Regions from separate parts of the Homo sapiens genome. Here all the other regions are linked to region 4. The links are contacts of gene promoters, found by promoter capture Hi-C in blood cells and fetal thymus (Javierre and others, 2016). All regions are on one chromosome and are shown on one strand. The core of a region is centred on a gene start or on the middle of the fragment in contact, and the rest is flanking DNA. Distances in the headings are between cores, read along the strand shown. Region 1 holds the start of GOLIM4 (golgi integral membrane protein 4). Region 2 has its middle 14 kb from the start of RPL22L1. Region 3 overlaps EIF5A2 (eukaryotic translation initiation factor 5A2). Region 4 holds the start of MYNN (myoneurin).

What was found. The method cuts DNA at HindIII sites, captures the fragments that hold promoters and counts their contacts. A CHiCAGO score of 5 or more calls a contact.
Region 1: a contact is called between the fragment with the promoter of GOLIM4 here and the fragment with the promoter of MYNN in region 4, in 1 of 17 cell types (erythroblasts). The highest score is 5.5, in erythroblasts.
Region 2: a fragment that was not itself captured here is called in contact with the fragment with the promoter of MYNN in region 4 in 1 of 17 cell types (activated CD4 T cells); the score reaches 5.0 in activated CD4 T cells.
Region 3: a contact is called between a fragment that was not itself captured here and the fragment with the promoter of MYNN in region 4, in 3 of 17 cell types (naive CD8 T cells, total CD8 T cells and activated CD4 T cells). The highest score is 8.3, in naive CD8 T cells.

What each region holds. Positions count from the first base shown.
Region 1 is chr3:168,093,692-168,099,269 of GRCh38, forward strand. GOLIM4 (golgi integral membrane protein 4) reads right to left here and starts at 2,233. Exons shown (of 16, transcript NM_014498.5): 1 at 1,408-2,233. The coding sequence starts at 1,594. RefSeq lists silencers at 2,009-2,058, 2,349-2,588 and enhancers at 2,260-2,761, 2,959-3,008. The HindIII fragment of the contact is 7,495 bases long and covers 421-5,578 here.
Region 2 is chr3:170,852,869-170,858,647 of GRCh38, forward strand. No RefSeq gene overlaps it. Among named protein-coding and RNA genes, the nearest start is that of RPL22L1, 14 kb to the right of the region's middle. The HindIII fragment of the contact is 1,328 bases long and covers 3,515-4,842 here.
Region 3 is chr3:170,902,476-170,908,038 of GRCh38, forward strand. It overlaps EIF5A2 (eukaryotic translation initiation factor 5A2), which reads right to left. Exons shown (of 5, transcript NM_020390.6): 2 at 5,167-5,366; 3 at 4,514-4,618. The coding sequence starts at 5,331. Among named protein-coding and RNA genes, the nearest start is that of EIF5A2, 3.4 kb to the right of the region's middle. The HindIII fragment of the contact is 744 bases long and covers 3,024-3,767 here.
Region 4 is chr3:169,771,663-169,777,652 of GRCh38, forward strand. MYNN (myoneurin) reads left to right here and starts at 1,734. Exons shown (of 8, transcript NM_018657.5): 1 at 1,734-1,800; 2 at 2,603-2,899. The coding sequence starts at 2,634. TRV-AAC1-1 (tRNA-Val (anticodon AAC) 1-1) reads left to right here and starts at 568; the gene lies at 568-640. RefSeq lists enhancers at 284-383, 1,274-1,823, 1,397-1,900, 1,539-1,833. The HindIII fragment of the contact is 7,916 bases long and covers 397-5,990 here.

The DNA.
Region 1 (5,578 bases), core at 983-3,482, 1.7 Mb before region 4:
AAATTTTGTGAACCTAAGAGCGTATCAAAACGGGTTTTACTTTTGAACCAAGCCGAGCCATATATTTTCATTGCCTGTGGCTATGCAGCGTCAGTAAGCTAAAAATACTTTTCTTTCTTCTAAGTTGGGAAGAGCAAGTTAAGTCCAAACAATCGGATGTGTATCATTTTCTCTCATCTTAAATTTTTTACTAGAAAACACTCAAAATAACTGAAGCAAAGAAGAGGCATCTGTTTCATATCTGCACACACATACACAGAAACATCCCTCTAGCTTGCATCTATCTACCTAGCAATATTAAACAAGCTATATTTGCATCATCAGCAAAGTCTGCCAACATTTCACCACTTACAGCTATTTATTATTATTTTTTGGTTGGGGAGAAAGCTGCATAAGTATTGAAAACTAACCACAAGTAAAAGCTTGCAAAAAAAATATGTATAGGATACGTCCTTAACAAGAGGACATGGTGCTGACTTTGAATTTACGTTAAAAGTAAATTCAAATTCAAATTCTGAATTTACATTTAAAGTAAATTATGTTTGTGAAAATTACATTAAATTAGATTCTAAAATAGGATAGAAACTTTAAGTTCTTCTACAGGTCTTGCTCAAGTTGGGTTTGCTGTGCATGGCAAAGTGAAAACCTGTGTTTCTCCTCTTTGGCTTCCCGAAGCTAACTGTAACATACATGCATCTCTGTGATGAAGTAAAAGCTACTTAGGAAGACAAGTAAACCTGTTTTTAAAGAAATAAACTACTGCAGGATGGTGAATGGTATGTAGTGTGGACTTTTCCCACACATCCAGCATCTCTAAAGACATCCTATTAAATTAAAAGAATAAGAAATAAGAAACTAGCAGGTCCAGATCTAGGTTCCTTCCATTCGACTGGGCCATGACTTTAATTAAGCTGCTGGGTCATGGCTTAATTTTCCCTTGAAAAACAGCACAGTTTGAGAAATCTCTGCCAAACTCTTCATTTTTTAAGCAACTGACAAAGTCAACAAGAAAGCAAATACCTAGAATCCACGGAACAATGCTCCTCAGAGCAGGGCTGGCAGAAGCGGCGGAGGGCTACCAGTTTCCCTGCCCCGATTGCAGCTGGGCCTTTGACAAGAGCTCGGGTAAAGGACTATCTGTGCACCCGCCCACCAAACGCCCAGCGGGACGATGGGCTGGTGCTACGAAGTTCTAAACCTAACCGCTGGGAGGAAGAAGCGGGAGGATGAGAATGTCATCTCCCCTGACACTCTGGTGCCGGCAGTCCTGAAACGCTCACCTCTGACGTCCCTGAAGGTCAGAGGTGGCAACCACAGTGCCAATAGCTCACCAAAGCCACTTTTCCTGCCCGGGTGGAGGCGCGGGGCAAAGTTGGCCACCGGCTGCGCGCGTCCCGTTAGCCGTACCTTGTAACTGGGCGGAGAGGGACTCCTGGTGCTGCTGGTACTTGAGCGCCACCGCCTCGGCTTTCCGCAGCTGCGTCTGCAGCTCGTAGTAGAGCATCGCGCCGTAGAGAAAGCCGAACACGACGGTCAGCAGCAGCAGCGTCTGGAAAATCCGCTTCTGCTTTCGGGAGCACATCCCGTTTCCCATAGTCCCGCCTGGACCCAAAGCCGCGGCCGCCCCCGCCGTCTCCTCCCCTTGGTCCGAGCGAGCGTCTCAGCAGCGGCCGCCGCAGTAGGTGGCCAGACGCAGCATGAGGAGGAGATGCCAGACACAAAAGCCGGCCCGGAGGGGAAGTGGCGCCCGCTCAGCCCCCGCGCGGCGCGGGGCGCGCAGCCATCGACGCCGCCCGGGCAGCTGCAGCCAAACTTCTGCGAGGCTCGTTCTCCGCGAATGCCCGGGGCCGGGAGGAGGCCCTCCGCATACTTCAGAGCCGGCTGCCCTCGCGCCTGTCCCCAGATGCCTCCTGCCTTTTTTCCTTCTTCCCACTTTTTGGCCCCGCTGCCCCCGGGCAGTTCTTGGAGTCCCGCCCTGGCCACTCCCCGCCCTATCGCGGCGGCTCCCACTGCACGACTTTGTTGCCACCTAAGGGAGGGGGTGCGCGCCCAACAAAGGGACCAGGACTCCGGGCCGCGCCCCCGTGCGGCCTGCCCAATGGGTGGAAGGGTGGGGGCCAGCTGTCTCGGCTGGTTTTGGGGACGGCACAGCGGTGTCACTGACGGGTCGGCTGGTGCCTCTGCCGCCCCGCCACCTCCTGCCCAACTTACGTGTCACCCACGGCCCGGCTATTCTGGCCAACGGGATTCCGGGAGGAAGTCCCACTCGGCCTCCTTGCTCATTGGGCCCGTCCGAGCAGACGCTCCCTCCCTTCGGGGAGGCAGTGCCGGGCTCGATTGGATGCCGGCTTTGTCCGTCCGACCCCAGGGCCGCACCTTCCCTCCCAGTGCCGGGGCCGGCTAGGGGCTCTGTGGGCAGCGCGGCCGCCTGGCGCCGGGGTGCGCCCACGTGGAGTCGGAGAGGGTGGGAAGAGGCAGGCGGAAGGGCGAAGGGCGGGGAGCTTTGGGTGGGCGGGGGACTTGTCCGGGCCTGAGTCTGGGTGAGGTTCGGTGAACACGTGTGTGTGTGTGTGTGTGTGTGTGTGTGTGTTCCAGTTCTCGTTCGGAACGCACGTGGAGAGCGGAGTAAAATGTGTGTATGAACGAAAGAATGGATGGCAGTAACTGTGTGCACTCTGCTGAGTACACTTTCTTTCCCTGTCCAATAAACTGATGCGGCAGACACATGGGATAGCTACATAGCACAATCCCGGTAGTCAAACCAGAGATGCCATGTCGACTGCCTTACCCCATCCAGTGTACTAGCCTAGATGTGTGTGTGCCCACAGATGGCCCGGCAGGAGTCGGGAGACTGGAAGCACGCTAGACTTAATGTTCAATTGTCCACGTGGGCTGGGGAAATCGGCTTGCCATTGGCAGAGAGGAAAGAAATGGTCTCACATTTCTCCTCTAGCTGCAAATAGAATAATTTAAAAACAAATCGTACAGACTGAAATGAGTATCCATTCATTTTGTCATATGTATTTGTTTTATTGGTGGCAAAACACATCAGTTACATTTCTAAATTACATTTTAAAGGGCAACAAAGGTTCCCTATGTAAAAACTAGTACAGCACAGGAAAGGTAGTAACCACAAACCTCTTCGAAGAAATGTATACTGCATTTATTTTTTCTGTGTACTTGAGGGGAATAATTAAGGTTATGCACAAATGATAATTTTTGTTTCTGCTGTTGACCTGAATTCTAAGAAAAGTAAATTTTATCTGTCTGTATAGTGTGGTGTAATTTATGATACACTGCATAATTTTTATATTCTAACTGGACTTTAGTCGTTACCATTGCTAATGGGCCTGAGTGCTCAAAATGGGGGTAAATCTCTTTAGCTAAATGCAACAGAAAGACAGTTCCTGGTGCAAAAGTTTTTTTAGGTGGACTCTGAAATTATAGGTTGCTAAAGCCCTAAAATAAACTGAATTTATAACGATGCTACCCTGTGGCATTTATACCACTGTAAAAATAAAGTGTGTCTTGCATGTGCTTTTCCTTAATAAATAATAACTTGCGTTAAATTATTCAAAATGCTTTCGTGTGCAGATACACTGTCTCACTGATCACAGCCAGGGTGTTAGACTTTCATGTTGGTAAAGAAGCCAAAGTTTATCAAAGTGACTATGACAGCTCTAGGACCTTTTAGGTCTTGCATAAAGTTAGTTACTCAGCAAGATTAGAATCCAGATCCAAACCCTGCTCTATGTCTTTTTCTTCAATAGAAACAATGTTCTCATTCTATTAAACAAGTTACAGTAAGAAATTATATCTCCATTAACATGAGAATCTGATTGTAAAAGAAAACAGTCTAAAGGAGTTTGGGAGTTTTGTTGTGTAAATACTACATAATCTTCCTTATTATTAAATCTACCACTTTAAATTCCTCTTTTTTAGTTTGACTCTCAGAAATTAACATTGGATAATTACTGGAATCTCTTTAAAATTCCTCATAACTAAACATTCCTTACTGTTGTCAGAGTACTTTGTTAAACAAACTCTTCCTCCAAAAACACTATCCAAATTTAGGCTGGGCATGGTGGCTCACTCCTGTAATCCCAGCACTTCTGGGAGGTTAATGCGAACAGATCGCTTAAGTTTGGGAGTATGAGACCAGCCTGGGCAACATAGCAAAACCCCTCCTCTACAAAAAAAAAAATATATAAAAATTTAGCTGGGCATGGTGGCGTGCACCTATAGTCCCAGCTACTCGGGAAACTGAGTTGGGAGGATCCCTTGAGCCTGGTAGGTAGAGGTTGCAGTGAGCCAAGATCACACCACTGCACTCCAGCCTGGGCGACAGAGGTGAGACTCTGTCTCAAAATAAATAAATATATAAATAAATAAAGTTTATGGCAATAATCTTGCCCCATATTTGAAGAGAAAATTATCCTAGCCACAAAAGAAAAAGAAGTTGTATAGAGGGTTGGAAAATTATTGCTCATATATTGTACAATATGTATTTTAGAATCTTTGGAAAATTCTTATGTTTCCTGAATGTATGATTCATCTTAAACCTCTGATTCCTTTGCATCTGATTCCAGACTCCAAAGATATTCTTTGCCTAAAGCTGCTGGCTGACTCTACAGAACATAATAAATGCAGGCCATAAAACACAACTCAATATTTTAGTCATAAAATTTGAAAGACAGCAAAAATTATTACCTGAACTTATCCATTATTTCAAATTCAAGAAGGGTATGTAGAAGTACATAAAATTACTAATGGTGGTATTTTTATAATATTACATTTCCAAGGTAAAGTATGCTGCTAGTTTCCTGAAAATGTCAGTATAGAGCTTTTGAGCGGCCAACATGAGGAAGCTATCCAAGGCCTATAAAATGAATTTACATAACATTGCCTTTGGGTAGCAATTATAACATAACAGCTGTTTATACTGGTCTTGGAAGGTGTGTTGTTCATTCTATTTTATTTTTGCTTCTTTGTTATTTTAAAAATAGTATATATAATTATATTTCTATATTCCATATATTTAACAATATATTTAACTTTAAATTATAAACCCTGAAGAATTTTACTGATTTAGTATTTTATTTCTGAGGCAGGAAGAAATTAACTTAAAGATACTCAAGGTCTTACATTTGAGAAGGGCAAATATAACATTTGGGAATATTAATTCTCTCTAACTTAAGTGAATTTGTCATTTTAATCAAATTTGTTCATTTTCAAAATAAGGGAAGGAAAAAATAAAAAGTTGAGAGAGACAGCTGACGTATAATTTCTAAAAGTAAGATTTTAAATTAATAATATTTAGGATCCTAGAGTAAATAATTTCTATTATCTAAATCTTTTATTTAAATTTCTTTACTACAAATGGAACTCAATATTTTGTAATTTGTAGGAGAAATCATCACCTAAGAAAAGGTGATGAATAGTAAATAAAATTTAAAATAGCTTTTCAGTATTAATAAACTAATTTTAATCTTTTCATCTGACAATTACAAAAGTTATTTATCCTATAAAACAATCTTCACTCTATGATGTCTTCACCTTTTTGCCATTTCATCAGTTT
Region 2 (5,779 bases), core at 2,929-5,428, 1.1 Mb after region 4:
ATGAGACCCAGACATTCCTGCTGGTAAGCTTAGTGCACTCCCTTAGTAGGTCCAATTCAAGATTATTTTTTTGTAGGTAAACTGTTTTGTTTTGTTTTCTCTTCCCTCTGGAAGCTTTTGGGATTTTCTTTTTATCCTTTGGAGTACTGAAACTTCTTCAGGAAGTTATGAGCTTTTCCCTTCATCCTACCTGGCCTACCTCGCAATATGAGGATCCAGATTTTCTTGGGCGGAGGGAAACTTTCTTCTGCTACTTGCATATCTGTCCTGGGTCACTTGTTTTAATTTGTTCATTCCAATCATTTTCTTTGATACTGTTGGTTCTACTCATTTTGAGTGAACCTTGGTTGCCTTTCTACATTTATGAATGAAAGGTAATGTTACTAATTATCTGACTTGGGATTCTTTTGTAGTTATATGGATTTGCTTACCCAGAAAGGCACACAGAGATAAATTTGACCTGGTTTTTAGCCTCGAAGTATTTACAGTCTAGTGAGGGAGGAAAACAAATAAACCAAAAATTCTGTCAAAGTGTCAGAATGTTTATGATATAGCTTAAACAAAAAGGCAGTGGTATTAGTTTGTGTACCAGGGAATTCCAAGGTGTGTACCTCCTCCAACTTCAATAGGCTGCCTCTGGCTTCTCTGGGGTTGGCCTTGAAATGAGCAGGGTCTGGGAGGCAAAAGGAAGGGACAGAAAAGGTCTGTCTCCACCACTACAGTTTGGTGATGTGGCTTTCTGGGCTTGAAGAAAGTTCAAGGCTTCTTCTTTCTCTTGAAGTATACATTTCTGGATTTCTCAAAGATTTATCACAGAGAATCTTTTGCTGCAACATTCGTGACATAAGCAATGCCATTTCTCAGGATCTTCACTCACTACCTGTAGCTCCTGAGCATGTGGTTGTCCCTTATACACAGACTCTTTCTGTTTGGGGTCCCACTTCTCTCCCAAGCAGTCCTCTTAGGTGAACAAGAACTCAACCCAAGCCTGGTCCTTCCCCGTGCACTACATCTGTGGACTACATCTGGTCCAGGGGAAGCACCTGTGCCTCCTTGTAGCTATGGAAATGTACCCCTCATTGCTCTCCCGTAGGCAAACTGCTCCAGCCACTGCCTTTGCCTTAGTTTTTCTCAAGGATGAGTCAAATGCCTAAAAGTCTTCAATTTCTCATGTGTCCTGGAAGTAGGAAATGAACTAAGTCTTAGAAAACTGGAGCTGGAGCACCTCCTTTGTAAGCTCTGCATAGATTTGGAATGTGGGAATATTTGGCACCTTAATTTTGTTCTCAGTTCTTGGAGTCTCAGCTGAAATAGGAGAGAAAAAGTCTCATTGGAAAAGTCTGTTTCATACCTCAATGAAAAGTACAGGGGTGATGAAATAAGGAATCTTCCATGCTGTTTCTTGAAGGCAGTAGGCCGTCTCCTGTGACTGGCCTTCTTACAATAAAACTGTGCGTCAGAGAGCCCTCTGTTAAGCCAGTTTGTGGTTCTCCAGAAGAGGAAAAAAGAAGCTTGGTTCTCTTCAAAAGCTAGATTATTCTTAGGCTTGGTTCTCCTAAGGAGCCAGCTGAATGTGCATCACTGTGAGAAAAGATTGCCTGGCAGGGAGAAATTTAGAAACATTTTTTTACACTAAAGCATTTACAGAGCATGAGCATTGAAGCCAGAGAGATCTGAATTTAAATTCCAATTTGGAACTTATTAGCTGTGTGGCCGTAGACCGACTGTTTAGCACTCTAAGCCCTTGGTTTTCTGATTTGTAAAAGGGGACTAATAACTAGCTTGAAGGGTAGCTGTGGAAATTAAATGAGATGTAGTATGTAAAGATTCCAAAACAGATGCCTTCGATGAGTAGTAGCCACTATCACCATTCCTCCTCAGCCTGGAATTCTCTCCCTCTTCTTCTCTGCCCCATCAATTCCCATTCTTCCTTAAAGAGAAGTCAGGGTAAGCCACCTCCTGCAGAAGGCCTTCTTGGATTCCTTTTCCCACTCATTATGGTATTGGTGCTTCTAAAGCATTTTGTAATATCTCTATTACTGCATGAACCACACTTACCTAAAGTCATTTGTACCCACATTTGCTCCCCTCGTTAGAACTGGGATTTCCTTGAGTGCAGAGAGTATATATAACTCACCCATCATCTCCCATGACTGCGACTGCCAAGGCAGAAATCATTGACCATATATTTGTGACATGTATGGAATCTGTAATTCACACCTCCCCATCTCAGAGAAAGAGGGAGAGAGGAGTTGCAGTGTTCCCTCCCTTGGGAGAAAACATATCTATTCCATCATAATTGAGATAGCAGATCATGATTCCCAGTTTGGCTCATTAACTCATAGGATTTTAGGACAGAAAAAAAAAGCCTTATCATGGGGGAAGTATGTTACTCTCAAGAAGCTTGTGTGTATCATGAGGTCAGGAGACCGAGACCATCCTGGCCAACCTGGTGAAACCCTATCTCTACTAAAATACAAAAAATTAGCCAGGTGTGGTGGTGTGGGCCTGTAATCCCAGCTACTCAGGAGGCTGAGGCAGGAGAATCGCTTGAACCTGGGAGGCGGAAGTTGCAGTGAGCCGAGATTGCGCCACTGCACCCCAGCCTGGCGACACAGCAAGACTCCGTCTCAAAAAAAAAAAAAAAAAAAAAAAAAAAAAGGTATATCCAATATTATGAGTTTATAGTGGGAAAATTATCCCAAAAATCTTACTTTGTTTTGTTTCAGAATAGAAAGCCCCAAAATACCTTGGTTGGTGGGGATATTTATGCATCAGTTATATCACAGGGTGGCAATTGGAACTGGGAACAAGGAACATGAGAAATATCTGTGTTTATCAAAAGGAAGCAGGTGTTACTAAAGCCCGAGAAATGCTGACCTATTTTTAACCACTTCTTTATATACAGAAGGGGAAACTGAGGCCCAGAGGGTGAAGAGATGTGTCCAAGGTCACAAAGCTAGTAGGCAACAGAGAGGCAGGATGTGTGACATGGCCCCGTGTGTGGGAGGAGCACTGGGTGAGGAGTGAGAGGTGGGTGCCATGGTGTGACCATGGGCAAGCCAGTAAACCTGAGACCTGGTTTTTTCATCTGAAAAATGGGAAGATAATATTGTGCCACAGAGGGCTGTTAAGGGATCAAAAGAAAAGAGAAAGCCATTTGTAAATGCAACACATTGTTTAAAACTGGCCTTCCTGGCATTTTAATCATCCAGCTTGTAAAAGAGCACACACTGAAGCTATATATCTAGACTCCAGTCCCTTCAGCATGACCACATACAAGGGTTTCCAGACAGTAAGTAGGAAAACCTATGCTAAGCAAAACTTCCTGGGAACTTTTTCATCAGGGGTAATGGTATAGGTGGGTAGTCACATGGGAAAAAGGTATAATTGGATCCACTTCTCAAATTGTAAACCAGGATAAATTCCAAATAGAATAGAGACCTACATTTTTTTAAGATGAAAATATGTAAGTACTAGCAGAAAACATAAATGAATTCTTGATAACGGGGAAAGCTTTTCTAACCATGGCAATAAGAAAAAAGTTAATTGATTTAATTACATAAAAATAAAAATAATGCTTCTATAGCAACAACTACAACAAAACAAAATGAAAACTAGTAATAAAACAAAAGAAAAATAGCAGCTGGGTATGGTGGCTCACACCTGCAATAATAGCACTTTGGGAGGCTCAGGCAGGAGGATTGTTTGAACTCAGGAATTCAAGACCAGCCTGAGCAATATAGCAAGACCCCATCTCTACCCAAATTTTTTAAAAAATGAGCCAGGTAGTGGTGTGTGCCTGTAGTCTCAGCTACTCAGGAGACTGAGGTGGGAGGATGGCTTGAATCTACGAAGTCAAGGACGCAGTGAGCCATGATCCAGCCTAGGCAACAGAGCAAGGGCTTGTCTCAAAAAAAAGTTAAAAAACAAAAATACCATAAGTAGGGGAAAAAGACAAATGAGAAGCTGAAAAAAGAAATTGTAATTTACATCACACACAAGGAGTTAATAGCCTTAACATAGAGGGAGCTTCTAAAAGTAAAAAATTAAAAATAAAAACAAGAATTCCACAGATATATATTAGAGATATAAACAGGCAGCTCACAGAGAAAGATATGCAAATGACCCTTATTGACATTCAACCTCACTCACAAATACAATGCAAAGGAAAATTACCCTGAAAACCAGGTCTCACCTGTCAGTTAAGCCTCAAATTGGACAAGGTTATCTCTTGGTGTGTCTACAGGAAAACAGATTTCACAGATTGCTGGTGGGAAGGCTAGTGGGAGAGCAAAATGCTACAACCCCTGTAAAGGGAAATTCAGCAATATCTAGAAATTACACATTCATTTATCTTTTGACCTGTAAGTCTCAGGTTTACAACTCCTCTCTAGGGGCTGGGCACGGTGGCTCATACCTGTAATCCCAGCACTTTGGGAGGCCAAGGCGGGTGGATCACAGGTTCAGGAGTTCGAGGCCAGCCTGGCCAATATAGTGAAACCCCTTCTCTACTAAAAATACAAAAATTAGCCGGGTGTGGTGGCAGGAGCTGGTAGTCCCAGCTACCCAGGAGGCTGAGGCAGGAGAATTGCTTGAACCCAGGAGGCAGAGGTTGCAGTGAACTGAGATTGTACCACTGCACTCCAGCCTGGGTAACAGAGCGAGACTCTGTCTCAAAAAAAAAAAAAAGACAGAGAAACTAGACTTTTCTAAATATACTTTGTTTTGTAGATTGGACTTTAGAATCCTGTAAATATTTTACAGAATTATAAAAAACAAAGTGGGCTTAAGCAAACTTTTTAATCAAAAGCAAAATGAAACAAATGACTCTGTGTATCAAGCTTGTTCTACGCCCACACAGAGATGAATCATTTCTAGTGACTTTAAAACACGAAACTTTGTTCATTTCTAGTGGGATATACCATAAGGACAAAAAGAACTGCAAAACAATCTTAAGCTGTAAAGTCATTATATTATAGGTAGTTTTGTTGGTATTATTTTATTGAAACTATTATGTGTATATTGTGAGATAAAGCAAATGAGCATTTGTGTTGGTGTCATTGAGAACTGGAACTTTCAGCATGGGAAAAAAGAGATATGGTCATACAATTGATGAAATAAAAACTCTTTTATCCTGATTTTGAATTGGAAGCATCAGAATAAACATATCATTTCCTCTTAAGAACAAAAATGTATTCCTTCACTCTGTCCACTCAAAAGGCCTAGAAACAAACACCACCCCAGTAATGACAAGCATCTCCAGCACCTAGAAAATAGTCCAGAGCTCCTTGTAGAAATGGATGACTCCTGGCCAGGCACACTGGCTGACCCCTGTAATCCCAGCACTTTGGGAGGCCAAGGTAGGAGGATCACTTGAAGTCAGGAGTTCAAGCCCAGCCTGGCCAACATGGCGAAACCACGTCTCTACTAAAAATACAAAAGTTAGCCAGGCATGGTGGCACATGCCTGTAGTCCCAGATACTCAGGAGGCTGAGGCAGGAGAATCACTTGAACCTGGGAGGCGGAGGTTGCAGTGAGCCAAGATCGCGCCACTGCACTTAGCCTGGGTGATAGAGCAAGACTCTGTCTCAAAAAAACAAGCAAACAACAACAACAAAAAAACGGATGACTCCAGATCTGAGGCAGGAAATTTGGAAGAGCCTAGCACATCCTATTATACCAGAAACCAAATAAGCAATAAAATCCAAATAAGATCATGCCAAAAGGATACAAGAGTCAACCTGAAGAGGCTCCTATTGGCTCAGTATGAGACCAT
Region 3 (5,563 bases), core at 2,146-4,645, 1.1 Mb after region 4:
TCACTGCAACTTCCACCTCCCAGGTTCAATCGATTCTCCTGCCTCAGCCTCCCAAGTAGCTGGGGTTACAGGTGCCTGCCACCACACCCGGCTAATTTTTGTATTTTTTGTAGAGATGTACAGAAGCCTTCCTTTTTTTTTTTTTTTTTTTGAGATGGAGTCTTGCTCTGTTGCCCAGGCTGGAGTGCAATGGCGGGATCTTAGCTCACTGCAACCTCCGCCTCCCAGGTTCAAGTGATTCTCCTGCCTTAGCCTCCTGAGTAGCTGGGATTACAGGCATGCACCACCACGCCTGACTAATTTATGTATTTATTAGAGACGGGGTTTCACCATGTTGGCCAGGATGGTCTCGATCTCTTGACCTCGTGATCTGCCCGCCTTGGCCTCCCAAAGTGCTGGGATTACAGGTGTGAGCCACTGTGCCCGGCCTCAGCTTCTTTTTGTAGCTTCTCTCATCTTTGCTCAGTGGGATCAATGACACGGGCTTTCTCTCACCAAGACTGATCTGACTACAGCCACTACTGAAAACCTCACAGAAACAGGTCAGTCTTGATATGGCAGAAGAAGAACACAGAACAGAAGAACAAGAAGTCTTAATATGTTTCCCAGAACAGCTGGCCACCTGACTGTACCCCTTCCATCATGAAACAGGCAGCAATTTTTTCTTATTGCAATAGTTTTACTCTGCATATGGATTTGCCTTTCTTGCCTGCAGTGCTTCTGCTAAAATCTCATCTCAATTTACAGAATGCCTCGTTCCTGTCATAGTATCTCACACTGCATCACTTCTGACTAGAAAACTAATTTTACAGGCAAAGTAACAAGGCAGTGCAACACCCAGATAATTCGCTGGCTCACGTACCCTATCATTCCAAAACAGCTTGCCTCTGTGGATCAGCCTAGTGAAGACTCAAATATGGCACCTGCTGAATGGTACTTTGTTGGCCTGGAGTGCTGTTTTTTGCAGGTTACAATATATTTCAATATATGATGCTATTTTTCCTATAGGTAGAATACACAGGTCTAGGAACTAAAGTTAGTGGCTCTTCTCATGATTACCCTTAATGATCCTGTAACAAATATTTGCTTCTAGTCCTCGCAACATTGGGCCCTATTGCTTTAGAGGTTTTCTATTTCCAAAGAAAGACTGCTTCCATCTGAGAACACAAGGATTCCCATGAAACAGGTAAAAATTATAAAAAGACTTTAAGCTCAAGGAATTCAATGAACATATCTAAACATTCAAATAATATACTACTTATTTGAATTCAATTAACATATCTCAGCATTCAAATGATATACTACTTATTTGAATTCAATTAACATATCTAAACATTCAAATAATATACTACTTATTTGAAGAATATACTAGAATTTAATAGTCACAGTTTTGGCAATTCACTAATAATCCAAAGGTCTACAATATATACTTTATGTGTCTATAGTAATTAGTCTTCCTTCTGGAAAATGGTTTTCAAATGACAGGTAAAACTGTAGTAAATGCAGAAACGGCATTTAACTTGTGGTGAAGTTCATATCAACACAGAACTTTCTAAAGAAATATGATTCCAGAGAGTGCTAAAGTCTGAATAAGCATTTCTGTATGAATTTGGGGATTCCCAAAGGTCTATCTGGATGCATTTATAATTTTCAACATCACTCAGTCCCGGACATCTATAACTACTTTTGGGAGAAGTAATGTAAATGAGCAATTCTAATCCAAGCTAATCTTGAAAGAGAAGTTAGGAGACAATTTTTCTTTCATTCTGAACTTATTTTAAAACACATAAAATTAAAACTATAAATATTAATACGTTTTGTTTCCTGTTTACTTTTTAATTATCATAATGAACAGAATACATATTTCTCTTTAGCCAACTGCCGAACTGGCACTCAAAATATTGAATTCAGCAAACATAAAGGATTACACACGCCAAATAATGAGTAGATATTTAATCAAGGCACTTGGTTAGGTAAGTGAAGACCACCATAGCACAATAAATATAAATAGAAAGGCCCACAGAACTTTTGTTTTTGAGACAGGGTCCCACTCTGTCGCCCAGGCTAGAGTGCAGTGGAGTGATCACAGCTTAGTGCAGCCTTGACCTCCCAAGGCTCAAGTGATCCTCCCACCTCAGCCTCTGGGTCTGCTGGGACTACAGCTGTGTACACCACCATGCCTCGCTAATTTTTTTTTTTCTGTATTTTGTAAAGATGGCGTCTCACCACATTGCCCAGGTTGGAGAACTAGTTTTTTAAACAATTAACAGAAATAAGTTATTTTTCTATGCTGACTTGAAAATGAAGAGCAGAGAAATACTGAATACTTTCTATGCCAGGCGTTGTTGTATTAACTAATTAAACCTCAAAATGATCCCATGAGGCGTTATTATTTATGTCTCTGCTTTATAAAGAAAGAAATGGAAGCAAAACAGGTTAAGTAACTTGTCAACCAAGGTCACACAGCTATTAAGTGCCAAAGTAAGACTAGGACCAGGCCTGCCTGGCTTAAATCATCCTCTTATCCACTTTGCAGTGCGGAGTACATACCAAGGGTTGGGACAAGGGTGAAGTAAGACACTTGTCTTGGGTGCAAAATTAAAGAAGGCACCAAAAAAACCTCAGTGATCAGATAGGCATTTTAATGCAATATTTTAAAAAATTAGAATTAATGCAAAAATCCTATGATAAAATACCAAAATTCTAAATAAAGATGGGATCAGAATTAATTTTCTTTGCGCCTTGAGCTCCTATATGGCTTGTCATTGTTACTAGTTCTGTCTTTATTTAAAATTTTGTGCCTGAGGCAAGAGCCTCCCTCACTTCATTTGCCTCATCCTAGTCTAGGACCCAAACCAAATTTTTCCTTTAAGTCTTGAGCTCCAATCAATGACTGGCTAACCTTATCATAGTATAATAGTAATTATCTGAACTGCTGATACCATCTTTCTGAAACATGCAACAGGCAAAAGCATTCTATATTGAATGAATATTACTGAATATAATTAATATTGAATAGTCAAAGCTTTCATACTTTAAGACGAAAAGAGAAACCCAATTTTGACAACATTCTACGCTCAACTTTAGCCTGCTGTACTATCTCTACCACATTCAGTAATCACATATACATTTAACAAATATTTTTCGAGCACCTACTATGTACCACATCAAAGTTGGTGCTCCAACAATAATGAAATGATTAAGTAGAATTTTTACATAGGAAAAGGGGGAAACAGAACAGCACTTTTTGGTACGTATCTACTTATGGAGTTCTTAATGGGGTACATTTTCTCATTTAATCCTCCTATTATCACTATTTTGTAGATGAGAAAACAGGCTCAGAAAGGTGTATAACTTGTCCAAAATCATCCAACTAGAAAGTGACAGAACTAGATCCAAACCCAGATCTACCTGGTTAAAAAAACCCACTTGCAAGACAATTCAAATTTCTACAAAGACTTCAAAGCAACCTAGAAAACATTTATGACAAGTAGGAAAGTGAAAATATAAAAGTGTTTACTAGATTAAAACCACAAAAAAGTATGTTTGCATGTGGACAAACAGCAAAAGGAAATCATTGCGTAAGTGCAGTTGATAGCAACATTAAAAGAAATTTATACAATACAACAAAGGGTACAGAAAAAAATCAGTTTAAGTCGGATAAAACAAATACCAGTGTCAACTTTGTATTTTTCACTATGTAAAATGAGCAGAAATGAGTTTGATATATGGTATGCTTGATACAGAAATTGAAGACTTTCAAGAAAAGCTTTAGTTATAAGTAATCTGAGCTTCCACATCCTATAAGGTCAATTATTTTGTTATCATCAATACTTCAAACAACAAAATGCTATCATTAAATATGACCTACCCAAATGTATAACTGGAACTAAAACTTGAAATTTACATACATAATTTAGCAAAAGGTCATAGCATGGTCACTAAGTATAATTTAACCAATTATATAGTTTTTGTGTTTTCTTCACCATACTCAGTGACCAGGTACTTTATCCTTTATATTTATGGCTTTCAACTTATTTCTCTACTTAAGAATGTCAAGTTCTGACTAACATTCATTAATGCAAAAACTTGGTAGGAACATGAATTTCAGTAGTTTCTTGAATGTCTCAGGTCTGATCAGTGAAAAGAAACAAAACATCCAGGAGGGATGTTTTAAATTAGAACAAGAAATATTTTACAACAGAGAGAATAGTACTTTTACTAAACATTGGACTTAATTGCAATATGCAGTCACTTGGCCTGAGAACACTAATAAGTATTTGACTTTTTAAAAAATGCAAGAATGTGAAAAAAATAGCAAACTAGCAATAATCCTAGAAAAGTACATGTGTTAAACATCACTATTTCTCCAATTTCTAAGATAGCTGGTGCCTAATAATTGGTTAGAAAAACCTACAAAACTACTCTTGGGTTTTGTCAAATTATTACTGATAGTACAAAGTATTTGCACCTTGAAGAAACAAGCAACATTCTAAAGAAAATCAGTGCTTACTTGATAATCATTTCTCTTAATATTTGGAACATCCATGTTGTGAGTAGAAGGACAAATATCTTCATATTTTTTGCCCGTGAAAATATCAATTCCAACAAGGTGAACCTAACAGAGGAGAACAGGAAACCTGTTTAATCTCTGCCAAGTATATCACTCATTACACACACAAGAGCACAATACCAATGCTGATTACAACAGATTCTTTTTCTCCTCCTTCCAAGGTCATCTAATTTTACTTAAAAAAAAATGTAGTGGTCTTACAATTAAGAGGCAGTAAACAACTAAACAGTATCACGACATGTCAAGACCCAATATAGACCAGTGATTCAATTATGAGATTACACAAGAAAAATAAAGTGTAGATTTCTTAGAATTGCTAGAACAGGTTTTCTCATCTGTAAACTAAATAGATCTTATAGGTCACTAGGATTCAGGAAAGTTTCAGTTCCCAGTTAATGAACATTGTAAGGGCCCAAGAAGGGAATGCTACCTTTAAGTATTCAACGTAATAACTGATTACCCAGTAATTGTGGGAAGGAAAAAATAGTGCTTATTACAAAATTTTAAGTATAGAAATCTCATGATCTGTAACGGAATACAAATGATCAAAGTCCCAACGCCGAAGCCAAAGCCTGATCTGCAAGGGTACTTACCTTGGCATGACCATGCTTTCCAGTTTTGGAAGTTGACATCTCCACTATTTTGCATGGTCGTCCTTTGAGCACCACGAAGCCGTTTTTGCGCAAGGCCGAGCACTGCATAGGGTAAGTGCTGGAAGCCCCGGCATCTCCAGTAGTGAAATCAATTTCGTCTGCCATGGTGGGCAGGGGAGATGGTAGTTTTTCCGTGGGAACTACACAAAAAGTTTGTGTTTGCTTTTTAACAACGGGTATGTAGGCAGGGAAACGTCTCATTTCGGACAAGTTATGTGCCAAGCATCATGGGCCCGTTATTTCTGCATGTAAGGAACACCCACCCTAGACTAGTGGCCACTTTCTAACTCTGGCCTCTACAAACTTTTCCAGCTACTGCTTGGGGAGGTGGGATGAG
Region 4 (5,990 bases), core at 484-2,983:
CATATGAAATTCAAGTTTGGAAAAATTTGAAAGTACATTGCATGTCAATAAACGCATCTTGGTGTCTGATTCTGCATACATCTGTAGAGAATTTGAAAACAAGCAGTCAATTTAGAACTTCTGCTTGGTCTTCGGAAGCAAAAAGAGGAAATTCAAAAGTAATTTTACACGTCCTTCCACCAGAAGCTGAAAGGATGGCTTTTTCGCGGCTGAATAACGAAAGCCCCCTGCTTCGCCCCGGACTCTGAGCAGCTCAACCTGCGGAAAGGATGTGTAATAAAACGCCTTTCCAGGGAGACAAAAAAAAAAAAGGCCACCCAAAGGAAGGGCAACTCGGGAGTGCCTGGTTTCTACTGCGGTACCCGGGCACTTTGGAAGAAAGTGCGTGCAGATTCAAGCTTTTGAAATGGTTTCAGCTCTGTTCAATTGGGCATAGGCTATTTTTCCTTTTCTGTTTTTTTCTTTAAATACATTATATTCATTCCTCTCAATTTGATAATAATCACTTGAGAATTGCGAATTGACACTTACATATCAAGGACTTTACAAAACCCTCTCCAAAGTGGGGTTTCCGTAGTGTAGTGGTTATCACGTTCGCCTAACACGCGAAAGGTCCCCGGTTCGAAACCGGGCGGAAACACACTAAAAAATCCCTTTTTTTTTTTTTTTTTTTTTCCTTCGCTTGGAAGAAAGCGTGAGATCACGCTTTGTTTTCTTTTGTTGTTTGTTTTGTTTTTTTTTCTGAGGGAAGCCTTAGCTTAATGTATGCCGGTCCTTCAAAAGACATGATAGCAATTTGAGAGTCTGAACTGTAAGTTTTTGTTACTTTATTCGTTCACCAAATGTTTTTATGGAAGCCTTGCCACGTGGAACATGTGTCCCGGGTTTTAAAAAATGAATTTGACTCACCAGCTAACACTGAAAAAATAATGTACAGCCTAGAAGGAAAGATCAAAGTGTAAAAGTGGTTAGTCCTGTCGCCTCCTGAGCATTTTTGTATTATATCACTTGGTTTTTCGTCTGAAGTGGCTGTAAATAATCGTATTAAAAATCTTCTGGTCCAGACGCAGGAAAACCTTTTCCGGTATAAAGCCCACCTTCCTCTAATGTTGCGCATGCCCACTGTGCCCAGCTGCTCCGCTTTCGTGCATCCCAGACTTCTGTCACCAGGTAAGGGCATCTTGGAAGCTGAGCTACAGTTGGCTGGGGCACAAAAAAACCAGGGGGTGCCAAGAGTTTTCAGGTACGTAAGCGGGAAAGGGGTGCCAAGTCTCAGCTAAAAAATCCCCTATGGCAGAGATCCGAGTACACATGCAGCAGTTTCCACCGGTGGGGCCCCGAGGAAGGGGAGGATGATGGGAGAAGACAAGCAACTACAAGCCCCCGCACGCAGTGCGCAGCTGGCTTCAGGAGAGAGGCCCGCGGTGCTGTGCTGCCGGGCCTCGGCGCAGAGCCCCGGCAGAGCGCCAGACGCTGACTGCCGGCACCAGAATGCTCGCGATGAGGAAGACAGGCGGAGCGCTGCGAGCTAGCGAGCCCTCAGCTCTCGTATCCATGACGCCTGCTGCTTCGGGGGACCCCTGGCATGCTGGGGAGTGGGTCTCTGTGGTACATCCTGTACCGCCCTGGCCGGCGCCGGACCCCCATGGCCCCAGAACCTCCCGCACTGCCACGGGAAGACAGAGCCGGACGTGACGCCACCGTGGAAGGAAGGGAGGGGCGGAGCGTGGCTCGGTGACGTCCTCCCAAGATGGCGGAGACAGAGTGAAGAAACTGTGTTCCCCCCTTGGGTTGCTATCGGTGAGTTCCTACTTCACCCCCAGCCCGCCATCCCGGTCTCTCTAGAGCCTGGGCCATCAGAGGGCAGGCTCCTTGGAGTTCCAGCACGGGTCGGGGCGCAGGTGGAAGGCTTGGGCTAGGCAGCCCCGGGGTGGCCTGGGCCACAACCTCTGCTGTGGAAATTCGCGGGAGTGGGAGCTGGGCAGAGGGCAGGGCGGCAGAAGCCGAGGAGGGACTGGCTTTGGTTGTCACTCTCGGATGCCGCCTCGCGTAGAGAGTGGGAAGGGAGAAGGTGTGGCCTCCTTAGCGCGAGTGATAGAACCTTTGACAGCAAGCCATGGCCGGGCGCATTCCCGGCTTTCTGGGCAGCCACCTCTCGTTTTGGAGAAACTGCACTGGGGAAACTAACAGGTTTTGGTGACTTGAGAGCAGTTTTTAAAAACTCGTACTGTTCTGCCCCTATCTGTCCCAAGAGATCATGTCTTAGTGGTTTAAAAAATTTTTTTGTAACATAAGTATGTCTACTGAGCTTGAAAATCTGAGGGTTCAACAGATGTGAAAGCGTCAGGTTTTGCTGTGCTTTTTGCAGGTGGTAGAAGTGTTGCCATTCACCGTCACTTATTGATGTGTCCAAAGGATTGTGTTAGTTGATCAAGGTAACCAAAGATAGAAAGGCACTCATCCCTTCATTCTTAACCATGTATGTTTGATAAGGATTTTCAAGGGGGCTAAAATTGTTTAAGTTATGTCCTCTGTCCCTTCCCTCACTGAACGTTGATGAGAACTTACGGTTACTGATTTACTGTTTCTTTTTGTCTTTTAGATCAAGGGTAAAATTCCATTCTGATATCAAAATGCAGTATTCGCACCACTGTGAGCACCTTTTAGAGAGACTGAACAAACAGCGGGAAGCAGGTTTTCTCTGTGACTGTACCATAGTGATTGGGGAATTCCAGTTTAAAGCTCATAGGAATGTGCTGGCCTCCTTTAGTGAGTATTTTGGTGCGATCTACAGAAGCACTTCTGAGAACAATGTCTTTCTTGATCAGAGTCAGGTGAAGGCTGATGGATTTCAGAAACTGTTGGAGTTTATATACACAGGAACTTTAAATCTTGACAGGTAAAGTACACATTTTATTTTCAGTTATAAAAGCTAGTCAGTAGTCTTCACAGCAAAAGTAGATTTGTATTTTTTCCATTCATTCTCTGAACTCAAATTCTTCACCTATTTATGCACACAATGTTTGTTTTTATAAAGAAATCAGTATCACTGATTTAGGATGAGCAGGCAATATTTTTCATAAGCACAGATAATAAACAGTAAGATTTCTGACACGTTTATTTACTGAAACAAAGCCTGTGATTTCACTTATGTAAACTTGAACATTAAACACAATGAATTTATTTTATTTTATTTTTGAGACGGGCTCACCGTCACCCAGGCTGGAGTGCAGTGGGGCAATCTCGGCTCACTGCAACCTCTGCCTCCCGGGTTCAAGCGATTCTCCCACCTCAGCCTCCCTAGTAACTGGGACTACAGGTGTGCACTACCACACCTGGCTAATTTTTGTATTTTTTGGTAGAGACAGGGTTTCACCATGCTGGCCAGGCTGCAAACAAAAAATTCTAAGTTACTTCCAGTTTCCCATTGCTTTTTGGTCCTTGAATTCCTCTGGTCTTCTGTCTCCCTCATTCTGACTCCTGTTATCTCTATTAACCTACCAGTACTAATACTGAAGTAAGGTCAGAGATGCTAGAATGATTCTCTAAGATGCTTACTGATGTCACTGCATTAACAAGAAGTGGGTTCTGAGGAATCTGATAATGTAGGCACTGTGTGTCTCCCCTGTATAACGAACCATATAATTAGATTAATATCAATACATTTACAGATTGTAGGGGAAAAGGTGGAGGGAATAAAAGCAAAGAGAAACTGATTAAATTACCCCTGTCTTATTTCTGTCTCTCTTATGAAAGTGAACATGAATAGACTGTTCATAATCTTCTGACACAGGAAGATTATAGGCTTTGGAATTAGATCTTTCCTGTCAGTCGCTATGTCTCCTTGAGCATGATGCAATCTCTCTGGGCCTCAGTTTCCCCATCTGTCAAAATGAGATGGTAATAACTACCTTGAGGCTAAATAAGGTTTTACTTGATCCTTATTCACTTCCCACTGAACGTTAATTTCTTTATTTTTCTTCTTTACCCTCTCCTCCCCCTTTAATTCCACATTTCTCGGAGAAAAAATAGAAAAAACAAAAAAGAAACACCTGAAATACTGCTGCCCACTGATAACCCCTGTTAACCTTTTGATATATATTAATTAATTCTTTTCCAGATCTCTGTAGAGATGTGCATGTATACATTAAGCAAAATCTTTCCCTCCCTTTTATATTGTAACTTATCATGGAAATATACTTATTTAAAAATCTAGAATCAGGGTGCTCATTAATCCTTTTGACGAGGAAACATTCTTGTGTAAGAAGTATCCAGTGGGGGGAGGGGAGGGAGAGAAAAGTAAACTTTCATGCTATTTTGGAATTATTTTTAAATTTTGGTATAATGAAATCTTCAAGTGAGTTCTTTATAAGTTGATTAAAGGAAAAGAGCAGTGTGAATTTTGGCTGGCCTGCAATTTAATGGTTTCCCTTTCTCTCAATTAACTATGCAAAACAAAAAAATCTTCATTTGAATACACGGTAGAGCACTTTTCTTTGAGACTTCATGCAAAGAACCAATGTGAAGAACAGCCAGGTGTTTTGTTCAGTCTCTTTTGGTACATATCTTTCCTGGAGACTGGGGAGCTAATTCCTCGAGTTCAGCTAGAAATGTAAGAGAGGATTTATACCAAAATAGAAAGGCTTACAACTTAGTGATTAAGAAAACAGGTAGAATATATTAAGTTGGCTCAGGGGCCAGATTACCTTGGTCAAATCTTGGTTCTAACATTCTGTGCTCTTGGACAGGTTACTTTATTTCTTTGGACTTCTGATTTTTCACTTGTGTGTAAAATGAGGATTATAATAGATTTCATAGGCATGTCCTGAGGATAATCTTATAAAGCATTTAGGCATGTACCTGGCAATATGTAATTAAATGACCTTCAGTGACTGTTCAGAGGATGTTATCTAATACTTGTAAACAAAAGCAAATCTGTTATTGAAGTATTGATTGGTGCTCTTAACTGTGACTGAGATTATAGCCATCTATGAAATAGTTTGTATGAATTACCATTTCAATGTTGAACAAATTTTTTTTTTTTTTTTTTTTTTTTTTTGAGATGGAGTCTCACTCTGTCACCCAGGCTGGAGTGCAATGGCGTGATCTCGGCTCACTGCAACCTCCACCTCCCAGGTTCAAGGGATTCTCCTGCCTCAGCCTCCCGAGTAGCTGGAATTACAGGCACCCGCCATCATGCCCAGCTAATTTTTGTATTTTGTAGATACGGGGTTTTACCATGTTGGCCAGGCTGGTCTTGAACTCCTGACCTCAGGTGATGCGCCCACCTTGGCCTTACAGGCATAAGCAACTGCACCCGGCCTTGAACAATTAATGTATGACTTCCTGCTAACTTATATTGGTCTTAAAGGCTACCTGACCTTGTTATCTGTTTGGCGGTTTATTTTATGGAGCACTAAACACAATTAGAGACCAAAAGATCTTTTTTAGTGGCCCAGCCCAAAAGACAATTTTTAGAAAGCTGTTGTGATGCTAAATTAAATAAGGGGAAACATACAGGTGGCACTTGAGGCAAAGCAAGTTTAATTAGAAGATGATGAGAACATGGGTAGAGATTTGTAGATACTGTAGCATACTTTTAGAGATCTTAGAGGTTCATGACACTAGTTATTTTTTATTTTATTTCAAATTTTAGTCCTTTAAAATAGTATCACCAGCACTATATTTACATTGTCAGCTATGATTAAAACCCTTTTCTGGCTTATACTTACAACAGAGAGGGAAAGAGATCATCTTCCCAAAGATAAACCATATTTAGGGAAAAAAATCAAGTAGGAAGATTATTTGAGGGTAAGGGGTGTGTGTGTGTGTGTGTGTGTTTCCATCCTCAAATACTTATAACAGTCATGTTTTTAGTGTTAACACCAACTCAACTCTAATTTTACAGCTAAGAAAGTTGAACCCCCCAAAGATGCTGACTTACCCTAATTAAGTCAGCCAGTAATGCCAGAGCCAGTGCTAGATTAATC